Regions from separate parts of the Homo sapiens genome. Here region 1 is linked to region 2. Evidence: promoter capture Hi-C in 16 types of primary human blood cells and fetal thymus (Javierre and others, 2016). All regions are on one chromosome and are shown on one strand. The core of a region is centred on a gene start or on the middle of the fragment in contact, and the rest is flanking DNA. Distances in the headings are between cores, read along the strand shown.

The links. Contacts are between HindIII fragments. The CHiCAGO score rates a contact against its expected background, and 5 or more counts as called.
Region 1: the fragment with the promoter of USP36 here is called in contact with the fragment with the promoter of TMC6 in region 2 in 2 of 17 cell types (activated CD4 T cells and non-activated CD4 T cells); the score reaches 5.6 in activated CD4 T cells.

The regions. Positions count from the first base shown.
Region 1 is chr17:78,836,874-78,842,298 of GRCh38, forward strand. USP36 (ubiquitin specific peptidase 36) reads right to left here and starts at 3,941. Exons shown (of 21, transcript NM_001385174.1): 1 at 3,863-3,941; 2 at 1,714-1,877. It overlaps LOC124904067 (a long non-coding RNA gene), which reads left to right and starts at 4,241. Exons shown (of 2, transcript XR_007065923.1): 1 at 4,241-5,425. RefSeq lists enhancers at 1,395-1,909, 1,910-2,424, 4,019-4,208 and silencers at 3,349-3,868, 4,329-4,428. The HindIII fragment of the contact is 3,098 bases long and covers 1,549-4,646 here.
Region 2 is chr17:78,126,748-78,130,739 of GRCh38, forward strand. It overlaps TMC6 (transmembrane channel like 6), which reads right to left and starts at 2,008. Exons shown (of 20, transcript NM_001127198.5): 1 at 1,865-2,008; 2 at 30-159. The coding sequence starts at 85. RefSeq lists silencers at 122-171, 222-301, 1,572-2,101 and an enhancer at 642-891. The HindIII fragment of the contact is 18,616 bases long and covers 1-3,992 here.

The DNA.
Region 1 (5,425 bases), core at 2,691-5,190, 710 kb after region 2:
TGAGCATGCATGTCTGTACAGACCTGCACTCTTCAATATGAAGGCCACAGGCCACACGTGGCTACTGAGCATGTGAAATGAGGCTAGTCCAGGTTGAGAGGTGCTATAAGTGTAAAATGCACACCAGATTTTGAAGAGAAATACTCACTAGTATAAGAAGAGAATGTAAAACATCCCAGTAATTTTTAGATCAGTTACCTGTTGAAATGGTAATATTTTATATATATTGAGTTAAATAAATTATGAAAATGAATTTCACCTGCTTCTTTTTAATGTGGCTACTATAAAATTTTAAATTATATTTGTGGCTTGTATTAATCTCCATTACACAGTGCTTGGAGTACAAATTATCTTTTTAAAAGTGAGGAAGGAGAAGAAAAGCAAGTAGCAGGCCTAGAGACTAGTATCCATTAGACACCTAAACTTAAACAAATGTCTTCCCAGGACTCTTATCAAAAGAGAAGAAGAAAAGCCAAGCAGGAGAGTGGGGAGATCACAGGCTTTGGAATGTGGTGGCCCCGGGAGGTTCTATCATCCTTAGCTATGAAACCCAGGGACAACTACTATGACTTCTCCAAACCCCCTATTCTACTGTAAAATAGCAACAAAAATAATAGGCTTGGGAAGTGCTTTAGAGCTTGCTACATACTACAGTCCCTAACAGAGGATCGATACTGTTGGTGCAGCTGCATGGAAACTGTAACCAAGAAGAGACCCCTGCACCTCTCCAATCGCTACCTTTGTATCCACCACTTGCCCTCCCCTACCCACCACCTCTCAACTTAACCTTCCCAAACACAGCACAGACTATCTGAGTCACAATTTCAAAAATATGTCCCTTAAATTGCTCACTCACATCAGAAAAATGATGACTTCCTCTGGTATTCAGTACCCAGCCTGCCCTCAGAGAATCAACAAGTCAAGTGTGCCCCAAAATTCTGCTCTAGTGAAAGTAAGGACTTCCTCCAGCACCTCATATTAAGCCATTCAAATTTATCACTGTGGATCATCTAATTCTATACATGGATCAAGTATCTTTTTCTACAAAAACTTCTGTAAAGAAAAGCCAGGTGCAGTGGCCTGGGCCTGTCGTCCCAGATGCTTGGGAGGCTGAGGTGGGAGGATAACTTGAGGGCAGGAGCCTGAGGCTGCAGTGAGCTATGATTACGCCTGTGAATAGCCAGTGCAGTCCAGCCTGGGCAACATCGTGAGACCCCATCTTTAAAACAAAAAAAATCGTGGCTCACGCCTGTAATCCCAGCACTTGGGAGGCCGAGACGGGTGGATCAGGAGGTCAGGAATTCAAGACCAGCCTGGCGAAGATGTTTCTCTACTAAAAATACAAAAAAACTAGCCAGGCATGGTGGCAGGCGCCTGTAATCCCAGCTACGCAGGAGGCTGAGGCAGAGAATTGCTTGAACACGGGAGGCAGAGGTTGGAGTGAGCCGAGATCGCGCCACTGCACTCCAGCCTGGGCAACAGAGCAAGACTTGGTCTCAAAAAAAAAAAAAAACAAAAAACAAAAAACTTCTGTAAAGAAATTTCAGAAGCTTATTTAAAAAAAAGCATTATAAGTTGTCTGATTTGAGAAAATAAAAGAGCCTTTTCTCATGAGAATTATCAAAGACTTCTCACCAACTGAACAATCACTGCTGCGTCACATGCAGACAATTCAACGGAATCAAAAAATACACAGAAGCCTCGCAGACTCACCTGGGATGTGCAGACTTGGGCCTGCTGTCCTACTGCGGCATGGAACCAGGATCTTAACGGAGGGCTGAGTTTGGTTGGGCAGGTGCTACGCGGAGCTCCTGAATGTAAGCGCTCCTGGACTGTGGCCTGTTCAAACACCGAAGCCGCAGAGCGGGCGTCAGAGCCTGTGGGAGGGACAGGGAGACCATCAGTGGAGGCGACTCTTCCTGTGCCTTCTCTTCAGCTACTTCCCAGGGATGCGGCGCGCACCGGGAACCCTCTACCACGAAAAAGCCGTCCAAGGAGCATCCACGCGTGCACTCAGGATGAGGCGGGTGGACCGTACTACCTCATCACCAGTTGTTGTAATGCACACGATATGAACACCTTAACCTTGACCCCAGACAAGCCCAGAGAAGGAAAACCTCCCCAACACCTGCCAGTCAGCTCCAGTCTAATCTTATTTCCAAAGAGTAAGAGGTAATAAATCCCCAAGTTTTGGATTTAATGAACCAGTAAAACTTCAATAACAACAACAACAAACCTCAGGGAGTAATAGGAGTTGCCAAAATTTTGCTTTGCTAAGTGTGGATTTTCTCTTTCATTACCATCTACGATCACTATGATTACATAAAATTAAGGTTCGTAAAAACAGTTTACAGTGAAAACATTCAAACACACAGATGGAGAACCGCACAGGGAGCACATGAGCCCCCCTTATTCAGCCTCAGTAACTACATCTGACCCATCCTGAGTCACTTCCCATCCCCAGGTAATTCTACAGCAAATCTCAGACCTATGACTTCATCCATAAATAAAAGCATACCAACTCCCGAAAAATGTGTAAGGAAATGATCTCAGAATAAAAGCCATCTACAAAGTGAAGACATCCAGTCGTATTAAAAACTCCCCACAATATCACTGCTTTCGGTTAGGACTCACATCTACCCTGGAAGGTGAGAACTCTGTCATGCACAACCAACGCTTGAGAACCACTTAGGGAGGGGATAAACGAACCTTGGGAGATGTAACCCAGTTTCACTCGAGATAAGTAACTTTGAACTTAACCCACTCCTTAATGTAGATGCAGAGATTTTGAACACAATTTTTCAAGTGGGACAGGTCAATCTCTACTTCACCAATTCCACCTAAAACATTAAGCAATAACCTAAACAACGCTCGCTCGCTCTCTGACGTGTAGGAGCCCGAGACAAGTGTTCCTGTAATCACTAGCAATCCCTCCGACGCACACACCATCCACACTCTACCCAACTCAGGAAGGATGCTCTCTCTTGTCCAAGGACAGCACAGGCCTCATCCACATTTCCACCTGCGCGAACCCCAGCCAGCACCATTTAGGCTCATTCCCGCTCCCTCCTCCTTCTAAAGTCACTTTTCCAGGATGAACTGCAACGGACGCTCGCAGGGTCAACCACGTGCTGGGGAGAGGAGCCCACGGAAGCAGCGGCCTCCCGGGGCCCAGCGCCGCGCTCCAGGGGCCTCCCGGGCGACTCCGCAGCGCCTGCCCCGAGCCCGGCCGCGGACACAGCGACCCGAGCACCTCTCCCCGAGCATGGCTCCGTGGCGAGCGTTACGTAAACGGGGGCGCGCGGAGTCTCCCCTCTCGTGTGTCTGGGTTTGGCGGCCGCCACTCCAGCCCCAGGCCCAGGACCCCCACGCCACCCGCCAGAAGCAGCAGCATCGGAACCGCACCCCGCCCCGGGCTCCATGGCCTCCTCCGCAACCACGAGGAAGGTGCCCGCCCCGGGGCCGCACCCGCCCCGCTGAGCTCTGCGGCCGCACGCGACGCCCTCGCCCTGATTCCGACTTCAACCTCTCCGAAGTTGACCTGAATCCTGCACAGACAGCGGGCCCCGGCGACCCCCATCACCGGCCCGGAGCCCGGGGGACGGCGGAGACCGGCGAGGACAGCCCGGCCCCGGACCCTCCTCGGGAATACCCGGGCTCTGGAGAAGCGAGCTCGCGAGCGGGCGGAGCATCCCGGGTCCTCCTCGGGGACGGCCGAAGCCCTGCGCGGACCCGCGCCCACGTTCTCCCTGAGCGTCCCGGCTGCGCCCGCCAGCCCTTCCCGCGCCCCAGGCCTCGCGGAACCCCCCGCCCCGGTCTCGTCCCCAGGCCTGCGCACCGCCCCGACCCGACCCCAGCCTACCCCGGCCTCTCCGCGGGCGCGCCACAAGCCTACGCAGCCCTGGCGACTCCTTCGGCCCGCGGCCCAGCACGCGCACCATCCGGGCCTCCGGCGCCTCACACACGTGTCACCGCGACGCTTAAAGGCGCCGCACCCAGCGTTCGCGCTGCGCTAACTCCGAAAGGGTTGGGAGGCTTTAAGAGGCGGGGCTAGATTCCGCTAACTCCCTGTCCCCGCCCACCGCCGCTTCCGTGTCGCCTACGTCACCTCCCCATCACGGGACCCCGCCAGCCTACGTGATGACGCAAGTGCGCAGAGCCACAGGCGCTCCCGCCCCTGTGCCGCGGCAGGGTGACGTCTCCGCAGCGCACTAGAGGTGCCGCTACTTCCGGGTCGGCCGAGCACACCTGGCGGCGTGGCGGACGCCTGAAGTGTGACAGTGGCGCGCGCCCCCGCCCCAGAACGGGGACTCGAGGGACTTTGCCCACCCCTGCAACAGCCCTCCCGCGCTGTCTCCCGGGCAGGGAGAAGGCTGGGCTCCCCCACCTGCCCCTGGCCGTCAGGTGGCTGTGGAGAAGCGGAGGCGCGGGCGCTCGGCCTTAACGTCCCGGGCTCTGGGGCCATCCGTGACTCCCACACGCGGAGCACCTGCAGTTTGGGGAGGGAGGGATCTGGGAGCGATCGGCCAAAGCCTGGGGCTGCCGAGGAAATGGCTCTTCGGAATTAGGGATCTGAGAGTGTGAGATTTGACCTTTGTAGGCTGGTGGCGGCTGTGCAATCTCTAGCTCCACCCACTCCCTCCAAAAGCTTTGTCCTCTGACAGCTCTGCGAAGGTTTTAGCTGAGTATTTGTGAGCACGTATTTCTTTTGCAGTATTTTTAAAAATCCTCTTGATCTGAGGCAACTTCGCTGGCTTCCTCCCCATTCCCTTGGGCAGGTTGAGAGTGTTGGTTCCTGGCCTGACCTCAGAAACTCAGAGAAGCACAGGATGGGCATAAACTACTTTATCCAAAAGGCAGAACTTTGCAAACACAGTCGTATCTGCTGTGTCTTTTTTGATGTAAGTAGGAATGATGAGTAGGGTGAAGTCACAGGTAAACAACCCAAAACGAATTTCCATGCCCTCCCCACGGATCCTAAAGCAGGGACTGGAGATGGGGAGAGAGGCTAGATGTACTTGGAACAAAATTCACCTTGTATTTATTACCTGGGCGCTGGTGTTTTTTGAAAAAAGCAAACAAGATAACCATATTAGTCTGATGCTGAGACTATGCCCTATCTGTAAGAATCCTTGGGCTGGGCGCGGTGGCTCACCCTTGTAATCCCAACACTTGGAGGCCAAGGTGGGCGGATCACCTGAGGTCAGGAGTTCGAGACCAGCATGGCCAACATGGTGAAACCCCGTCTCTACTAAACATACAAAAATTAGCTGGGTGTGGTGGTGGGCGCCTGTAATCCCAGCTACTCAGGAGGCTGAGGCACGAGAATCCCTTGAACCTAGGAGGCGGAGGTTGCAGCGAGCTGAGATGTCGCCACTGCACTCCAGCCTGGGCGACAGAGCGAGACTCCGTCTCAAAAGAAAAG
Region 2 (3,992 bases), core at 758-3,257:
CCTCCAGCCCCCAGCCCCAGAGCGCTTACCCCTGGTCCCCTGGGGTCTCAGGGACATCGAGGATGAAGGCCAGTGGCTGGGCCATGTCTCTGGCCAATGCCCGCTAGTCTGCAGACCTAGGGTAGCTCAGAGCCTGGGCGCCACCTCCGGAGCCCCCATCTGATGAGACAGGGGCACAGAGCCAGGGGTGGTCTTCAACGCCTGGCAGCTGTCCACACCACCCATTCCTGGGGGAACCACAGGAGGTGCCACTCACAGCCCAGACAGTCCCGCCCACCCCCCTATCACCCCAGGTACATAAATGGTGAGGCACCGAATAAGCCTCATGCCAGAATGGAATGGGGGGCCCCCTCCAGTGTCAGGGGAGGGGAGAGAGGAAGGAAGGGTGTGGGGTCTGCAGTTCCACATCTGTTTCCTCGATGTCGCCAGTCCCTGGGAAATGGGGAAGAGGTAGGGTGCCTGTAGACACAGCCCCTTTCAGGATCTCCATGCCCAGGGTTCTGGCACAGAGACACCTCCTTTTTGGAGAGAAAGGTCAGAGTAGGCTGTAGGCCTTCTCTGCGTCTGCCCTGTGACCTCAAAGAACTTCCTCTAGCAGGAAATTAGCTGCTGGAGCCCTCACCCCCAACCAGCCCCAGGCGGAAGCAGCACAGGGGGCTCCTCCCCCACACACAGAGGTCACTCCATGCCACCGCCGTCAGGGCGCCAAGGTCCTCATGTTCTCAGAAGACCCACTGCCCTGCATTCCATCATCCCAGGGCGGCCGGCTGGGGGTGGCCAGGACCTCAACAGGCCTCCTTTGTCCTGGCTCTGCCGTCACCCGGCACAACTGGAACCAGAGCAGCCTTGTCTGGGGCCCTGGGCTCGGGGCCCGTTCATCTGTGAGAGTGGAGCCAGGACTCAGCTCCCAGCCACCAGCGAGTCCTGCCGGCCTCTGCCCTGGACTCCTCCTGCGCTCACCCTCAGGAACTCAGGGCTCAAAGTCGGCCGGGTTGAAGGGCGCTTTCCTCGGACAGGCAAAGCCCGGGGGCGCCCCGACAGAGCAGCTCCTTGCAGGGGTGCCAGTCACAGGACCGGACGGCGCCCTCCCTCAGTGTCCTGGGTGCCATCTTCGGGCCCAGGCCCCACACCACCCCCTCCCTCCAGCAGGAGCAAAGACGTGGGAAAACCAGCCCAGAGCTGGGTCCGAGGCGGCCCCACCCAGCCTAACACGGGACAGCTGCCGAAAGAGGGGCTGAGGACGCCCCACCCAGTCCCTAGAGCTGGAATCCCTTCCTCCAGACAGGCCCTTCTAAGCTCAGGGAACCCGGGGACTCGGGCACCCAGCGCCCCAGCACTCCGCCCCGAGGCCCAGGCAAGTCCAGCGGAGTTTCCAGGCGCACCATTCCTGAGCTAGGTGGGGAGAGGCTGGGTGGCGCCCGTTTCCAGGAACCCCCACCCCAGCCGGCAGCGAGCTTCCCGGGAGCAGCCGCTACCCAGGGAGAACCGCAACCTGGCCCCAGAGCCCAGAGCGGCTGCAACTCTGGGGCCACCGAACCCGTCCAGCCGGCCTCCCTGTCCCCCGCCCCTTCCCATCCCGGCCACACCCCCTCCCCTCCCCTCCCCGTGCCCTGGCGCTCGGCTGGGGGACCTGGGTGGGGGCTGCGGATTTTGCTCCCCGCACTGTCCTCCCCGCCCCTGCCGCTCCCAGCTCTGTCCGAGCCGGAGGGTCAAGCCCTGGGAGCTCCAGGAGCACCCGGGGAGGGAACTCGGCTGCCAAATGGCCCCAGAGGCCGAAAGGAATTCAGGGGGGATTGCCGCTGTCCCCGCATAGGAGAAGCAGCTGGGGCTGGCGGGACCCGGGACCGGGATCGCGGCCGCTCACCTGGGAGGCGCCGGGGAGGAGGGGCCGCGCGCGCAGCCAGGGCTCACCTGTGCCCCGCAAGAGCCGCCGGGAACTGAGGTCTCGGCTCTCCTTGCCAAGGGAGTGGCAAAGGGCCCCAGGGGCGACTGGGCCAGTCGCAGGTCTGCCGGGGCCGGGGGAGTAGCCGCACCTCCCGGCCCACGTGGGCGGGGGGGGGGGGGGCGGGCCTCGGCTATCACGTGACCCGGCCCGGCCCGCGGCGCCCCCGCCCTCCTCCGGGCGCCCCGCGGCGACTATGCCTTCCTCCCCTGCCAACTTCCGACCCCTCCTCCTGAGGTCTGAGCTGGGCTGGATTCATTCCAGCCCCTGGTTGAAGTCCCCAATTTTTCTGACGCTCAGTTTCCCCAAGTTCCAAAAAGGGGCAATATTTCCAGACTCATCTGCTTCCCATGGTTAGGGATCGTCCAAGTAAGATGCCGCCGAAAGCCCCAGGGACACAGAGTATCTCACTCCAGATTGGGCAGCGCCCCCCCCCCCGCCGCCCCCGCAAGCCTCCTGCTGACTCTCCCCGACCCCGGCGGGGGGAGCCTGGTTATCTCCCACTCCTGACACCTGGGCGGGGTTCATTGTTTATCTAGCAAGAGTTCTGGCTCACTTCCTGTGTGCTGTGTGGAGAGGAGGGGATGAAAAGGAGGACACGCTGACACTTAGGTGACTGTCCCCAGGTGCTGTACCCGTTGCCCTGTTTTCTGTTATTCCCCATGAGCCAGGAAGGTATGCACTGATATTCCCATTTCACAGATGAGGAAACTGAGGCTGAGAGAAGTTAATCACCCTTTAGGGTGCCCCCAGCCAAAGCAGGAGACTTAGTGGTCCACCTGGGAACTCTATGGAGGAAACTGCCTTTGAGATTGTACCCCCCACCCCAAGCCCATTTGGAAGGGAGGGTCATTCCTGGCGGGGAGAAGCCATGAAGCAGGCAGGGTGAATGTGAGCTGGGGCCCAGGAGGGCAGGAGAGGGCACTGCTGCAGGGGAGAGCAGGCAAGCAAAAGCGAGGACCAGGCAGGGGTCAAGGCTGGGGCCTTTTGGAGCTGCCAGTGTGGTCCTCAGATGGCTACCCCAAGCTGGTTCTTGGCAAGTGGCACCCTGGCATGGAGACCCAGCCCCTGCCTCTCCTCCCACTGCTTCCCCCTCCCTGCATACCCACACTGAATTTGCATGAATGCCACCTCCTCTGGGGAGCCTCCCCAGATTGAACCCTGGTGGAGCACCTACCACTTCCTATTGACATGTACATCTGTGGTTCTGTGCCCCCTCCTACCCCAGCCCACTGTGTGCCCAGCACCAGCACATAGCTTGCGCCTGACACACAGAAAGGACTCTGGAAACCAGGAAGGAGGTGGGCAGAGAGGCAGAAAAGCTATGAACATTCAGACCTGAGATGACTGGGCCCTATAGCAGGTAGAGAGGGAGCAGAGAGGAAGGGCTGCGGGCTTCCCAGGGGCCCAAGGACAGAGAATTGGCAAAGATATGTCTTAAACATCTAGCCTGGGAGAGCATGAATGGAGCCAATTCCTGAGCACTTACTACCGGCCAGGTGCTAGGCCTGGGTCTTGGCACAACCATAACGCCAATGACAGGGGCTGGAAGTACAGCAGTAACACCAAGAGTATCTGGAAACCCAGCAGCCAGGTTCTGGGGAGCCCACCATCCTGTCATTATCACACCCTCCAGGGTGAGGCCGGCAGATAAAGAGTTTGGCCCCTGTGCCCCCACCGTTCCCATCCCCACCCATGTCAGGCTCCCAGCTCAGGCCTCGAGGTCAAGTCCTGCCTATCCAGGCTGGAAGGAGTTGAACAGAGAGGGCCTCAGCTGCAGGCTGGACATCCCTGGAGGCAGCCAGGCGGCAGACCCGGACCAGTGGACCCTAGGGCTGCAGGAGACCAGGCCCTGACTCCTGTGCAGAGGGGAAGGGTGGGCCACCCGCAGCCCAGCATGCACAGAGCTCCCTGGGAGGCCAAGTGGCCTACGCCTGTCACCTTCACCTCTGCATCTCAGGGGCCCACAGGAAGTGCCTGCTTGGCCTCAGTTTAAAGCAGAGGAAACCATGGGGTGAGAGGGGAGGAGGGAGGTAGTGGAGAGGGAAGC